5 separate regions of the Homo sapiens genome follow, and all the other regions are linked to region 1. Evidence: promoter capture Hi-C in 16 types of primary human blood cells and fetal thymus (Javierre and others, 2016). All regions are on one chromosome and are shown on one strand. Each heading gives the region's core, a stretch centred on a gene start or on the middle of the fragment in contact. The rest is flanking DNA. Distances are from core to core; before and after follow the strand shown. Region 1 holds the start of NUDCD1 (NudC domain containing 1). Region 2 overlaps OXR1 (oxidation resistance 1). Region 3 overlaps OXR1 (oxidation resistance 1). Region 4 overlaps OXR1 (oxidation resistance 1). Region 5 overlaps ABRA (actin binding Rho activating protein).

The links. Contacts are between HindIII fragments. The CHiCAGO score rates a contact against its expected background, and 5 or more counts as called.
Region 2: a fragment that was not itself captured here is called in contact with the fragment with the promoter of NUDCD1 in region 1 in 1 of 17 cell types (activated CD4 T cells); the score reaches 7.9 in activated CD4 T cells.
Region 3: a fragment that was not itself captured here is called in contact with the fragment with the promoter of NUDCD1 in region 1 in 2 of 17 cell types (total CD8 T cells and non-activated CD4 T cells); the score reaches 9.3 in total CD8 T cells.
Region 4: a fragment that was not itself captured here is called in contact with the fragment with the promoter of NUDCD1 in region 1 in 1 of 17 cell types (non-activated CD4 T cells); the score reaches 5.5 in non-activated CD4 T cells.
Region 5: a fragment that was not itself captured here is called in contact with the fragment with the promoter of NUDCD1 in region 1 in 1 of 17 cell types (total CD4 T cells); the score reaches 5.4 in total CD4 T cells.

Annotation. Positions count from the first base shown.
Region 1 is chr8:109,332,788-109,335,469 of GRCh38, reverse strand. It overlaps NUDCD1 (NudC domain containing 1), which reads left to right and starts at 1,383. Exons shown (of 10, transcript NM_032869.4): 1 at 1,383-1,577. The coding sequence starts at 1,460. ENY2 (ENY2 transcription and export complex 2 subunit) reads right to left here and starts at 1,123. Exons shown (of 5, transcript NM_020189.6): 1 at 996-1,123. The coding sequence starts at 1,001. RefSeq lists enhancers at 842-1,091, 357-1,279, 1,462-1,511, 1,642-1,691. The HindIII fragment of the contact is 6,990 bases long and covers 1-2,663 here.
Region 2 is chr8:106,645,907-106,648,588 of GRCh38, reverse strand. All of the region lies in intron 3 of OXR1 (oxidation resistance 1), which reads right to left. The region is part of intron 1 of OXR1-AS1 (OXR1 antisense RNA 1); the gene reads left to right. Among named protein-coding and RNA genes, the nearest start is that of OXR1-AS1, 10 kb to the left of the region's middle. The HindIII fragment of the contact is 682 bases long and covers 1,039-1,720 here.
Region 3 is chr8:106,666,142-106,668,823 of GRCh38, reverse strand. All of the region lies in intron 3 of OXR1 (oxidation resistance 1), which reads right to left. Among named protein-coding and RNA genes, the nearest start is that of OXR1-AS1, 9.8 kb to the right of the region's middle. The HindIII fragment of the contact is 2,952 bases long and covers 1-2,682 here.
Region 4 is chr8:106,716,558-106,719,239 of GRCh38, reverse strand. All of the region lies in intron 11 of OXR1 (oxidation resistance 1), which reads right to left. Among named protein-coding and RNA genes, the nearest start is that of ABRA, 52 kb to the left of the region's middle. The HindIII fragment of the contact is 233 bases long and covers 1,248-1,480 here.
Region 5 is chr8:106,759,791-106,762,472 of GRCh38, reverse strand. ABRA (actin binding Rho activating protein) reads left to right here. Exons shown (of 2, transcript NM_139166.5): 2 at 959-2,682. The coding sequence ends at 1,436. Among named protein-coding and RNA genes, the nearest start is that of ABRA, 9.1 kb to the left of the region's middle. The HindIII fragment of the contact is 1,333 bases long and covers 686-2,018 here.

The sequences.
Region 1 (2,682 bases), core at 134-2,633:
AATCGCTTGAACCCAGGAGACAGAGGTTGCAGTGAGCCGACATTGCGCTGCTGCACTCCAGCCTGGGTGACAGGGCAAGACTCTGTCTCAAAAAAAAAAAAAAAAATTAATTAATCAAAAAAAATAAAATTACTAGATAAGGCTCTAAGTGTTTTGCTTTACTCTTCACTAGGATGAACCCACAATTACAACTGCTAAACCTAAGTGTGTGGATGTGTGTGTTTACACACACACTGCTGGTGGGATAAGAAGAAAACAAATCTCAAACTAATTCCTAACTTACAAAGTCCTCAATTGTCAGTAAAAACAGACAACCCAAACCAAAATGATGTTGAAAGAAGAGGAAAGTTAGGTTTTGAAAGCGTTAAAGCCACTTAAAAGTTTAAATTAAATAAAACTTGGCGTAAACTAACGTTTTCCCACCTAATCTGTCACTAACTTGAGATTACTTTTGTTGTCTTCCATCTGGCCTATTGAAAATTCAGACTGGCAATGAGTTACCAGAGTTGATTTTTTTTTTCTTTTTTGAGAGGAACAGGGAAAAGGAGAAGTTGAGTGAGAACTAGGAAATGCTTGCTTTTGTAATTGGAGGCTAACATTTTCAAAATAACTACAAGGTCTAGTCAGTACCACTCCTGGAATATTGAACTTGATCTCGTCTTGGCTCCTAAAATACGGATAGTGACCTTGGACAAGTCACTTAATTCTTAAAGGCCTCAGTTTTCTCACTGGTAAAACAAGGGCGCTAGGGTATCCCTCCCAGTTCAGACATTCTTAGGGAAAATAGAACAGGGCGGAGACAGCGGGAGAGGCGGGAGAGGAGGAGCCAGAAAACAAAGCGAGGACTGGTTTCAGGCCAACTCCGGTAGCACGCCCTGTCGGAGAGCCCTACAGGCCCGCGAGCGCGGGTCGGGGACGCTAACGAAAGACAGTACATCGAAAGGAGCCTGGGCTGGGCCCGGGTCCCGGCCCTGAGGACCACGGGCATAGCTCACCACCATCACCGCGGGCGAGGGCCGTCCCTTCCCAGCGACGAAATGACCCTTGCGCTGAGGACCGTTACCTACCACACTCTTCGGCTGCCCGGACTTAGACCCTCAGTAGCTCGGGCACCTAAGCACACAGAAAGCTAGAACACGCATTTCCGGGGCGGGGTCTCGCCACCCTGCCTATAATGTGAGAATTTAACCAGCGCGGGCCGCCTCCTGGTTGCTAGGGCCTCTGGGTAACAGAGTTCAGACCTTGCCGTCGCGCGCGCGTTAAGTACCAGGAGAACTACATAGCCCAGCATGCAACAGTCTCAACTTTTTCACGGACACTACATTTCCCAGAAGGCAGTTCGCACCGCAGTGTTTTCTGGGATGGGAACCACGCCGCTTCCCAGTCTCTGTGCGAGGCGTGAAGCGCGGACCTTTCAACAAGGGCTTTATTAATTCTCACGCTGCGGCCCTGGAAAGCGATGGAGGTGGCGGCTAATTGCTCCCTACGGGTGAAGAGACCTCTGTTGGATCCCCGCTTCGAGGGTTACAAGCTCTCTCTTGAGCCGCTGCCTTGTTACCAGCTGGAGCTTGACGCAGGTGGGAAGCGGCGGCGCCCTTCGTACTCCGTTCCTTTCCCCTTTCGGCTGCCTCCGGCCTGACCCTTCCCGCAATTTCTTTCTTTCTGACTGGCAAGCGAAGCCACCGTGGCGGCTTGCGTGGACTCACGGAGGCCGCTGCTTCTGGGGAATGATGCCCATCCCAGAACCCGGTGGGAGCCGCCTTCGCGCGCTCTTCGGTAACGGGACCCTGGGCCCCCTCCGTCAGCAGCCCAGCCTCTGAGGTCTGAGGTCTGAGGGCTGGCGTGCGGGTAGTGCCTGGGGCTCTGGCTGCTGTGTGTCCACAGCCTGGCTTCTGTTTCGGGGGACGCTGAGAACATTCCTTCCTCCTGGAGCATCGCTTGTGAACGTGTGCGTTGAGAAACCACACCTCCTTGGAGGACCCCCAGTTCCTGTTTCCTCTGACCGAGAGCCGTTTCTTAGAAGAGAAACTACATTCCAGTCATAGCATTTTTAATTACTCAGTTCCTGGCACATTAAGAACTCTGGTAGAGAACATCTCTAGAAGATAGTGAGGAAAAGTGGATTTACTCCCACACTGCTACTCCTTGCTTTATCTGTAGCTGGTAGAATATCCTTACTCTTGTTTTTACAACTTAACGGCATTTTCGTTATGATAGAGCCCAGAGATCTGCATTTTAAAATTCACACCCCTGCTGATTCTGATGCATGTTTTCAGAGATCACACTTTGAGAAATAGTGATCTACAGTTAATTATAATAACAGACATTAAAGTATAAAATAAGTTTATGCTAATTGATTTATTAAATTCAGAAATATTTACCGAGTACCTGTTTTGTGTTACGTCCTGATAATATCAAAATGAACAAGACACCTTCCGTAACAAAAGAGGACTATTAGCTAGTTAGGAAGAAAATTGTAAACAGATAATTGTAAAACAATATGGGAAGGCAGTGATAGGGATATGTACAAAATACAATGGTAGTACTTGAATATCTTTCCTAAACTAGTCTGGGGATCTGGGAAGGCGTCTTGGAGGAGTTAATATCTAAGTTGAGCTTTGAAGGGTAGGTTAAGAGTTGACTAGGATGAGAGAGGATAAGCTTGATTTTTCTTTTTATTTT
Region 2 (2,682 bases), core at 130-2,629, 2.7 Mb after region 1:
AGGAAACATTGTTCTTTTAATTGTGGAATCTTAAGTAGAAAACTTTCAAGTAAGACAATGATTTCTGAAAATATGAAGAAAAATGACATGAAAACTAGGCAAATGGCTCTGATTTTATATTTTTATACTAAAAGAATATCATCAGTAACCTAAAAATAATTAGAACCAGATTAACAAAAACATTGGTTTGTAATGTTTATATTTTCTTAATTGTTAGATGAATTAAATGATTCCTATTTTAAGGGGACTATTCTTTGATTGCTTGTTTACATTGGCTAATGACTGAAGTTCTGTTTAATGTTCAATCTTCTCAATCTTTTTATTCCTGCCCCAGCTCCTATCTCTGTCAGTCATCCTATATACCAAGCTCTCTGAATTCAAGCTCACTTCTTTATCTTTTACTGAAGATGACATGAAATGGTTTTTCTACTAACAACCATCCCCTGGCATACTTCCTGATTCACTAAAACTATTATGAGTAGCCACAACATTGTGTTCATTACATTTTAAAATACTTTTTAACACAGATAAAATTATTGAATTTTAGGAAATAAAAGAAGCAGAACTGTAACATCCTGAGAAAACACAGAGACATTGAAGTATATGAGCACGACACATCTGCAAATCTTTAAGCAAAATGGTAAAAGTGAGAGCTGTGTTCTCATTATAAGGCTAGCTATGTTAATAAACTCAGAAAATAACAATTGGATCTTAAAAGAACAAAATGAAAAAATAATCTTCTCCAGTAACAAATTATATCTACCTGTCAACTATTTCATAAGATAGAAATGTTAGGGTTGGGCATCATAGCCCACACCCGTAATCTAAGCACGTTGGGAGGCTGAGGCCAGAGGATCGCTTGAGGCCAGAAGTCAGCACTCAAATTTCTGATATGATAAGCCAAACCACTGATGGAATCAATAAAGCAGACTGACAATCTGACACTAAACTAAGCAAACAGATTTTGTAAGTTTAGAAACTAAGGCATGAATCTATTATACAGTCACTACATCTGCATCTGCCAGTAAACCTAAAGCTTAACTTCATAGACAAATTTGATACCCTTAAAATTGACTCTTTTTTTATATAAAGCATTTGTGTGTTTTTTGCCACTAAAATGGTTTATGCTAACATTCAAATTCCTTATCATATGTGAGACTGCCACCTGTGTCCCAAATGACCACAAAGAGGAAGAATGTGGGTTATCGTTTGAATATAATCATGATCACAGCATTGAAGAGTATATGATAGAGATTTAATACGGCCTTTCAATAGACTGGGAGAGAGTCTAATATTAATTTTCTAAAAAGTTCCCCTCTAGAAGATACCAACCTTGGATATAATAATTACAAACCCTACTAAAAACCAAGTAATTTTCTTTCAATTCTGAAAATTGTCCAAAAGGTGTTAACTCCTTCACTCATCAGAAAAACACTGCATGGCAGTCAAGCCAAACAAGGACTCAGCAATAGCATCGTTAACAATTATAATTGAAACTTGGGTCACAATAAGTGACATCAACTTACCATAGAATTATTCCAGTTCTATTTTTAATCCTATTAAAGACAGTAATTACAATGGTATAATTACAGCCCCCAAATACTCCATACCTGGAATGTGGCAGCTTCTGGAGCTTTTGGATCAGTTTCACTCAGCTCATTGGACAAGTGCCAATTGGTATTACCAATGGTGCTTAAAGTTCTGAAAACTCAATAAAGCTTTAAAAACCTTGAGGAACAATAGCTCATCAGGACACCCAAAGAATAATGTTACATCATGAAGACAAACATTCTCATTTTCTTTCTTCTGCAGATTTCTTTTCCTGCCTGCACTTTCTTTGAGGTTGCAGTAGAGAGTGTGTGTCTACAGAAGGTACTGTATGCATAGCTATAAGGAGGTCTTACCCTCTGTCTTTTTATCTTTCTGGGCCCTTCTTTACCCTTGTTCTTCCTCTTCTCCTCTCTTAATTCTATAATGGGTCTTCACATATTGCTGTACCTTCTCATGTTACTTGAATAGAATTTTGATACTTAATCTGAAAAGCTGATAAGTGAAAACATTTGTTTTGTGGTATATTAAGTACTTTATTGAAATTATTAATTTCACATATTTTAAAGTTATATAGCTTTTAGCTAATTTTTTGGATAATTTCCCTATCTTTGTTTTTATTAAAGATAATAGGGCCAAGCGCGGTGGCTCATGCCTGTAATTCCAGCACTTTGGGAATCTGAGGTGAGCAGATCACCCTGAGGTCAGGAGTTTGAGACCAGCCTGGCCAACATAGCGAAAACCAATCTCTACTAAAAATTACAAAAATTAGTCAGGCTTGGTGGTGTGCACCTGTAATCCCAGCTACTTGGGAAACTGAGGCAGGAGAATCGTTTGAACTTGGGGGGCGGAGGTTGCAGTGAGCCGAGATCACGCCACTGCACTCTAGCCTGGGCAACAGAGTGAGACTCTGTCTCAAAAAAAGAAAAAAAAAAGATAATAGAGAAAAAAGAAGATGAACAGGCAAAATAATATTGGAAAAACCTAAATCTGTTGCCAGCACATTTCCAGCTTTAACCTGTAACCAGTAGTTAGGTAGTTTTTTGTTGTTGTTGTTCCTTCTGTTGGGGGAAAGTCTATAACTGGGGCTGTGTCAATACAAGATGAAATGAAGTACAATAAAAAGAGAGCCTA
Region 3 (2,682 bases), core at 98-2,597, 2.7 Mb after region 1:
GACAGAAGAAATGGGCTTCCCTACATAACTTCATATTTGTGACAGTTAACACCAGCAGTTTTCAAATCTGTCAAACTAATATAATGGTTTCTAAATTAGTCATGGTGATAGACTATATTATTGTTACTAAGCCTGTATTCCTTCCTGTTGAGGAATATAAAATATACCTCACCATCCTATTGATGTCAGACATGGCCAACTTGCTTTGCCCAATGAACCATATATGTCTTCCAGGTGGAAGTGTTTGGAGCCAAAATTGTACTTCTTAGCTCTCTTTTCTATCTCAAAACCAGAGATCTTCCATATAGTGGCTGCTCCATCAACATGTATTCCAGAAGAAAGGTGTAATTCCTAAAAGATTATTCCACATAGACACATGTGGGCACATGAGTCAGGCTATTCCCATTTCTACTCTTAGTTAAATTATTATGCTTGGGAGCTTAAAAAATTATTCAACAATTCATGCATAAAAAGCAAATCATCTACTAGGGGAAATGGAAAAGAATCTGGCTGGCTTGCATGAGACTTCTCTACTGAAACATTACTCAGTGCTATAAGACTGAAATTATGCCAATTGTATCAAAAACTCCAGAATCAAGGAGGACATTCTAAAAGGTTACTAGAGAATATAGAACAATAATAAGTTATAAAAAAGTGGTTGAAAAACTAAGTATGAATGTTACAAACATGGACAATGTAAAAATAGTAAAATGAGTAAATATTAGGATGTGAGGAGGAGAAAAATGAGAAATGAAACTGCTAATGTCATACCAAAGCATGGTTAAATATATCCCACCTAAAACTGAAACAAGATTGTAATAACAGTATCTGTAATTTTTTTTCTTTTTTTTTTTTTTAGAATTTGCTTAAATTTAGACACACCCCTTAGGAATTAACCTCTTGTGGTGAATAAGTATTATCTTTCATTCTGTCACTCCCTCCTTCTAACCACCCATCCATCCTTCTATATGTACATACACATAGAAGTGATGTACATTACTTGGCAGTAATGCCTACCCAAATATTAACAGTATCTCTGGGTGACTGGATTAGAGGTGATTTTTAAAGTTCAGTATTTGCAACATATGACTTATTTATATATAGTATATATCAGGTTTATTTTAAAAATTAATTTCGTATAAAAGACTGGAAGCAAATATTCCACAATATTAATGGCTCTTAATTGTGGCATGTGAAAAAAGAATGATCATAATTCCAGTAGTTTATTTATTCCACAAGGACCTTGCCACACAGTCATTTTATCTTCAGCATCTTTCTCTCAGCATACAAACATGTCTTCCTTTTAGGAACTTTTCATTGTAAGTCACCTCAACTTTCCTAAGGTCTCAATACTATCCAGAGGTTGGCAGAAAACTTAAACATGCATTTCTTTTATTAACTTGCATCATAAAATAGGTGCATGCCCCAAGTACTTGTAAAGAAAAATAAATAAATAATAACCTGCTAAATTCAGCAAGAGTTTGATTGAGAGAAATATCATTAAGGAAAACAGAATGATGTAGAGTCCTTCACATCCTAAGTCAGTGGTTTTTAACCCTAGTTACATATTAGAATTCCGTAAGAAACTGTAAGTGGAGATCTTAAACAGAGATTTCAAGATCAAATCTTTGATTATAATCAGATCTTGGCATCAAAATTTTTTCATGGCTACCCAGGGAATTCTAATGTGTACCCTGCATTGGGACTCATTGCTATCAATGCTGCCCAATAAAACTTTCTGCAATGGTAAAAATGTTTTATATCTGCCTTGTATAATATGGTAGCCACTAGCCATCTGTCTTGTGAGTACTTGAAATGTCTCTAGTGAGACTGAAAACTGAATTTAAAGTTTTACTTAATTAAATTAATTTACATTAAAATAGCTACATGTGCCTAGTCACAAAGATTATTTGCATAGCCAAATTTTAGTCAGGCTGCTGAACCTTCTCCTATGCCAATCTGTTCACTTCCTTATAAAACCGAGTTTCAGCAAGAATCATGTTAAGGTCAGTGTAGCAGGAACCCCCACCCCGATCCTGGATATCTGATTACCTTCCGTATCTGATCAGTTTTCTCATCCTCCACTGTCCAGGTGAAGTCTGATTACTCTGGCCTGCCTTCAGCAAGAATCCTGGTAGGTCAGTTTCACCATAATACCCCTTATTCCTGACGTTACCTCTTAGCAATTGTCCATCCATCTATCCTTACTCTACTCCTTGGCTAGAAATTCCCACTTGCCCATTTTGTATTTGGAGTTGAGCCCAATCTCTCTCCTCAACTACAAAATCTCATTGCCACAGTCCCTATCCCTATTGCAATGGTCCTGAATAAAGTCTGTCTTATTGTGCTTTAGGAAGTATTATCAAATAATTTTTCCTTTAACACTAGTTGCTACCATATTAGATAGAGCAAATACAGAATCCTGAATCCAATTTTCTCAATCCAGTTCCTCATTTGCATTAGCTGCAATTCAGATACTCAATAGCCATATTTGCCTAGTGGCTACCATACTGGCCATCACAGATACAGACCATTTTCATCACCTCAAAAAATTCTATTGAGTAGTACTCTCAAAAAAATCCAAAACAGAGAGTCGTAACTATCTAAAATCTATAGTTTAAAATGTAAAACCTACCTCTCAGTTAAGATGGACTGTTAGATAACTGCATATTTGGATTAATT
Region 4 (2,682 bases), core at 115-2,614, 2.6 Mb after region 1:
TAGAGCACTTCCCTTTTCAGTGAAAAGGCATAAAAAATCTGTATCAAAAAACAGAAAGTAATATTTATCACAGAACTGCAAAGCCCCACATCAAACAGTATCCTCACAACACTGGATATACTTATTGACTTCCTGTGTTGAATACCGGCAGAAATCAGGGGAAAGACTGTAATAAGTAGTTCCTTCTCAGTTATCAAATAAGGTTATCAGATCCCCAAAAGCAAGACTCATAATGCATATTTCTTTTATTTGGGTATCACACCAAAAACATAAGTTTGGTTCACTATGAAGAAAGGTTTCCTTAATCATTTTGTGCCTTGATTGTTTAAAAACATGCTTTCTTATCAATAGCAGCCATGTTGACGCAATTAATTCAGGCATAGCTCCTTTTTTTTTTTTTTGAGGTGGAGTCTCGCTCTGTCGCCCAGGCTGCAGTGCAGTGGCATGATCTTGGCTCACTGCACGCTCCACCTCCCAGGTTCACGCCATTCTCCTGCCTCAGCCTCCCGAGTAGCTACAACAAGAAGCGCCCGCCACCACGCCCGGCTAATTTTTTGTATTTTTAGTAGAGACGGGGTTTCACCATGTTAGCCAGGATGGTCTCGATCTCCTGACCTCGTGATCCACCTGTCTCGGCCTCCCAAAGTGCTGGGATTACAGGCGTGAGCCACCACGCCCGACCCACACCAAAGTACTCTTTATCATGTGGCATACAAAGTAACACTACAAAAAGAGGAAATTCAGTCCTTTACACATCGTGAGCAGTAAGAATAGTATTTCTCAGATCCTTTATCCAAATACTTAGGAACTGATTTATCATTAGGAACTTTTACTCCTGACCACCTTAAAATTTGGCTAAATTTTCTTTTTCTTAGTAAATATATGTTTCTGTCTGTCTTCAATAGGACTGGTCTTCAATGTTCATATTTGGAAATTAAAATTTTTAAAAATATTACGGAATTTTTCCTGCTATCCCAAGTGTACATTTTAGTAATTTGGGGTGCCATAGTTTATGAACTCTTTTAACATATTTTAGGGTACTGATATGAATAAGATCTGAATAGAGTTCATAAAGTTAAACAGTTGAAGTACTGGAAAAAATAATTCTGAAACAAGATTAAAAGGGAAGACAAACATTTTCACACTATCGCAGTAAATAGAAAATGTTTCTTGTTGTTATTGACTTGCATTGGAAGACAGAATAAAGATAAATGAATCCAATTTACAAAGATATGTTTCCTTAAGCTTATTGTAACAAATAACTTTCTAACAGAGCTGTCCTAAAATGTAAAGTATTGCCCTTTGAGGTAACAAATTCCCTTTCACTGAATATGTTTAAACAGAACAAAAAAAAATGTAAATGACAGACTGTGGACTATTAGTTAAAATGTCCAGAATCTATGGCTTTATGAAAATATTTACTACAACTGATGTAAGAACTTATTTCAGGAAATAGAGCAATCTTGAAAGATTAGAAGCTTTATACCTTAATTTTAATCTACGCCCAAGTTTATCCATTAATAAATATTGAGAATGAACTATATGCCTATACAATTCTTAGTTCTGAAGATATAATAGTGTATGAAATTGACAAATCCCTGCCTTATGACACTTACATAGGGAAAGGGAGAAAAAAGCAAACAATAAGTTTACCAAATTTATCATATACAAACTTCCCCAGTCAATGTATACATTTCTGGCTAGCAATATATTTCTGCTTGAGTAACAGTCAGGGATAATAAAGATCTTTTTTAAGTATCACTAAAGCAGAATAACAGTGAGTAGAGGTGTTAGTTTAAATCTAACTGATGCCCAAGTTGGTAGCCATAACAAGTTCATCCTAAATTCTAGGACACCTATTCTCCATTCCTTTGTAGAACAAAAAAATAAAAAACATCACGGCACATTCTGAAGTACTACTGTTTTATATAAGGGCTTTAGCCAAATTCTTCCTGTTTTAAAATAAATCATGTTAACATTTAAAATTACTCTTTCACTTAAATGAGTACTCATTAGTTTAACAAACATTTTTATTTTATTTATTTATTTTTTTTGAGATGGAGTCTCACTCTGTTGCCCAGGCTGGAGTGCAGTGGTGTGATCTTGGCTCACTGCAATCTCCGCCTCCCAGGTTCAAGTGATTCTCCTGCCTCAGCCTCCCGAGCAACTGGGACTACAGGCGTGTGCTACCACGTCCAGCTAATTTTTGTATTTTTAGTAGAGACAGGGTTTTACCATATTGGCCAGGCTGGTCTCAAACTCCTGACCTCGTGATCCACCCTAGTTTAACATTTTTTATTTGTTACCCTCGGCCTCCCTAGTTTAACAAACATTTTTTTAGGCACTTAGTATCCATGAGGCATAGACCTGCACTGCACAAGAGCAATATAATGTAAGATACATTACAATTGTAAATTTTCTAGACACCACATTAAAAAAGTGAAATTAATTGTATTAATATAGTTTATTTAACCTAATGTATTCAAAATATTATCACTTCAATATTAATCAGTATAAACAAACAAGATGTTTACATTCTTTTTTCTTTCCATTCTAAGTCATTAAAATCCAGTGTGTATTTTTTTTTTTTTTTTTTTTTTTTTTTTTTTGAGACGGAGTCTCGCTCTGTCGCCCAGGCCGGACTGCGGACTGCAGTGGCGCAATCTCGGCTCACTGCAAGCT
Region 5 (2,682 bases), core at 103-2,602, 2.6 Mb after region 1:
GAAAATGCATTCTGAATTCCAAAGATATACACATTTAAAACGCAACTTATTCCTTTATTAGACACTGTATGGGCCTGCTGAGTGGCATCACTACATAGTAGAAAGAGCATTGACCTTGGTCTAAGGCAGTCTTGCGTTTGAATCCTGCAACGTCACCTATTTAGGGCAGTATTTCACAGTTATAGACAGGCTCTGGAGCCAGCTTAACTTTGGTTCAAAGTCTAGTTCTACCACTTAACAGTTTTGTGACTTTAAGAAGTTACTTCATCTCTCTGGCCTCAGTTTCCTCATTTGTGAAGTAGGAATAGTAGTACCTATCTCAGGAAATGGTTGTGGGGAATATTAATAAAGCATTTAGAAGAATGCCAGTACATAGTGTTCAGTAAATGTTACTATTGCTAGCTAGTGTTTTCTATCTGTACAACTTCATATTTCGAAGTTTGTGGCATCATTGATACTAGTCTATATATGCTCTCACTGAAAAATCCACATATAAAAATCTATATATGATTAAATATTAAACTGCATGTGTAGTGGTAGAGTCCTTACCTTTGGGAAATAATTGGTTTCAGAGGTCCTCTAAGAACTAGATTCCTGAAAACACCTACATGATTTCAGTTCTAAAATGTTACCAATACTCAACTTAAAGATATACACATTTGCATTAACTTTGTGTGGGGAAGCTTTTTTCTTAAAATAGATTTTAATATCATTATAATGCTTAAAATCGTTATTCATAGAGAAAACAATCTAGAAGGATATGCACCAAACTAAGAACAACGGTGGGACTATGTATGATTTTTCTTCTTTCATTTCTAATTTTTTATATTGTGTTTATTTTTGTAGTGAAAAAATTATACTTACATTAAAGATGCATATGTGTGGGAAGTACAAAGGGAAAACAACACTCGGTGTTAACATATCTGAATCTTGATTGTTCACCCTCTCTCTACTTTAGGGTAAACAGATTTACAGAGAAACTCAACTGCAAAGCCCAACAGAAATATAGCCCAGTGGGCAACTTGAAAGGGAGATGGCAGCAGTGGGCTGATGAACACATACAATCCCAGAAGCTCAATCCTTTCAGTGAAGAGTTTGATTACGAGCTGGCCATGTCCACCCGCCTACACAAAGGAGATGAGGGCTATGGCCGCCCCAAAGAAGGAACCAAAACTGCTGAAAGGGCCAAGCGTGCTGAGGAGCACATCTACAGGGAAATGATGGACATGTGCTTCATTATCTGCACAATGGCTCGCCACAGACGAGATGGCAAGATCCAGGTTACTTTTGGAGATCTCTTTGACAGATACGTTCGTATTTCAGATAAAGTAGTGGGCATTCTCATGCGTGCCAGGAAACATGGACTGGTAGACTTTGAAGGAGAGATGCTATGGCAAGGCCGAGATGACCATGTTGTGATTACGCTACTCAAGTGAACCTTCAAAAACAAAAGCCAAATTTGGCCCACTATGGTCTTAATGCTAAATGCTCATGTAGGTAAAATGAAAATGCAAACTCTCTGTAATAAGTTAGTAAATATTAAACAATTTTTACATAAACGACTTTCTGGCATTCTATTTCTATCTAGAATGAGGAATTTTGGAGATTTTGAGAAGGCACAAAGCATTTCAGAAAGCACATAGAATGTTAATGTATAATAATAGTATTAATAGTTGAAATTCCACAGGGTGTTTTTGTTTTTGTTTTGAGACAGATTCTCTTTATGTCACCAAAGCTGGTCTTTTAACTCCTGGCCTCAAGTGATCCTCTCACCTCAGCCTCCCAAGTAGCTGGGATTATAGGCATGAGCAACAGCACCCAGCCACTTGTATATTTTAGGCAAAATATTTAGCTAGTCATTGTAGAAACTACTATAGATTTTTAATTAAACATTACATCTAAGAAGAATGCTGACTTGAGATAAATATCAGTAGAACATATAATAATGTGTCTTTATTTGGAAAAAAGAAAATACCATTAAGTTTGGTAAAACTAAACTTAAAATTTTTTCAGAAGCTTGACTTTGTATTATTGTTTATATCATAGCATCACTTACAAAACAAGCACATATATAAAAAGTTGTCAAGATGTTGCTGAAATTGTTGAAGTTCCTCTGTGGGCTTGGATTCTAACAGGTTTCCAGTAAGAGTTCACCTTCCTCTTGTTTGATTTCAGCAAATCACATAAAAACAGACACTTCCTGTCTTAGTACCAACAAAGGAAGGCACACCCTCACTAAAAGTAGAGCAGAGGTGAGAGATTCAGATTTACTTGCCTTTGTAGGACTTCTTGGAGAAGTTTATTGTTTCATTACATGTCAGCATATAACGAGTCAAGCTGCTTGCATTAACATCAATGCAATGATATGTATTTCTCCAACAATGGAGAAATACAGAAAATCTATGAAGTGGAATGTTCAGTATTAGAAAAATCCCATAGAATCATTGGTGAATTAAAAACAGATTTGAGACAGTTTAATGTTCCTCATACTGTAACAAAGAAAACTTTATGAAATGTTTAAGTCATAAAACTGCAATATTAGTTCTGCCAAAGTAAAAAATATACAATGATGATGGCAAGGAGAAAATCATTGGACATTAATGTGCCTATGTGATCTTAAAAACAAATGGAATGGAATGTGAGATTGCAATTCTTACTGGATTCAATGAAATTACTAAAATG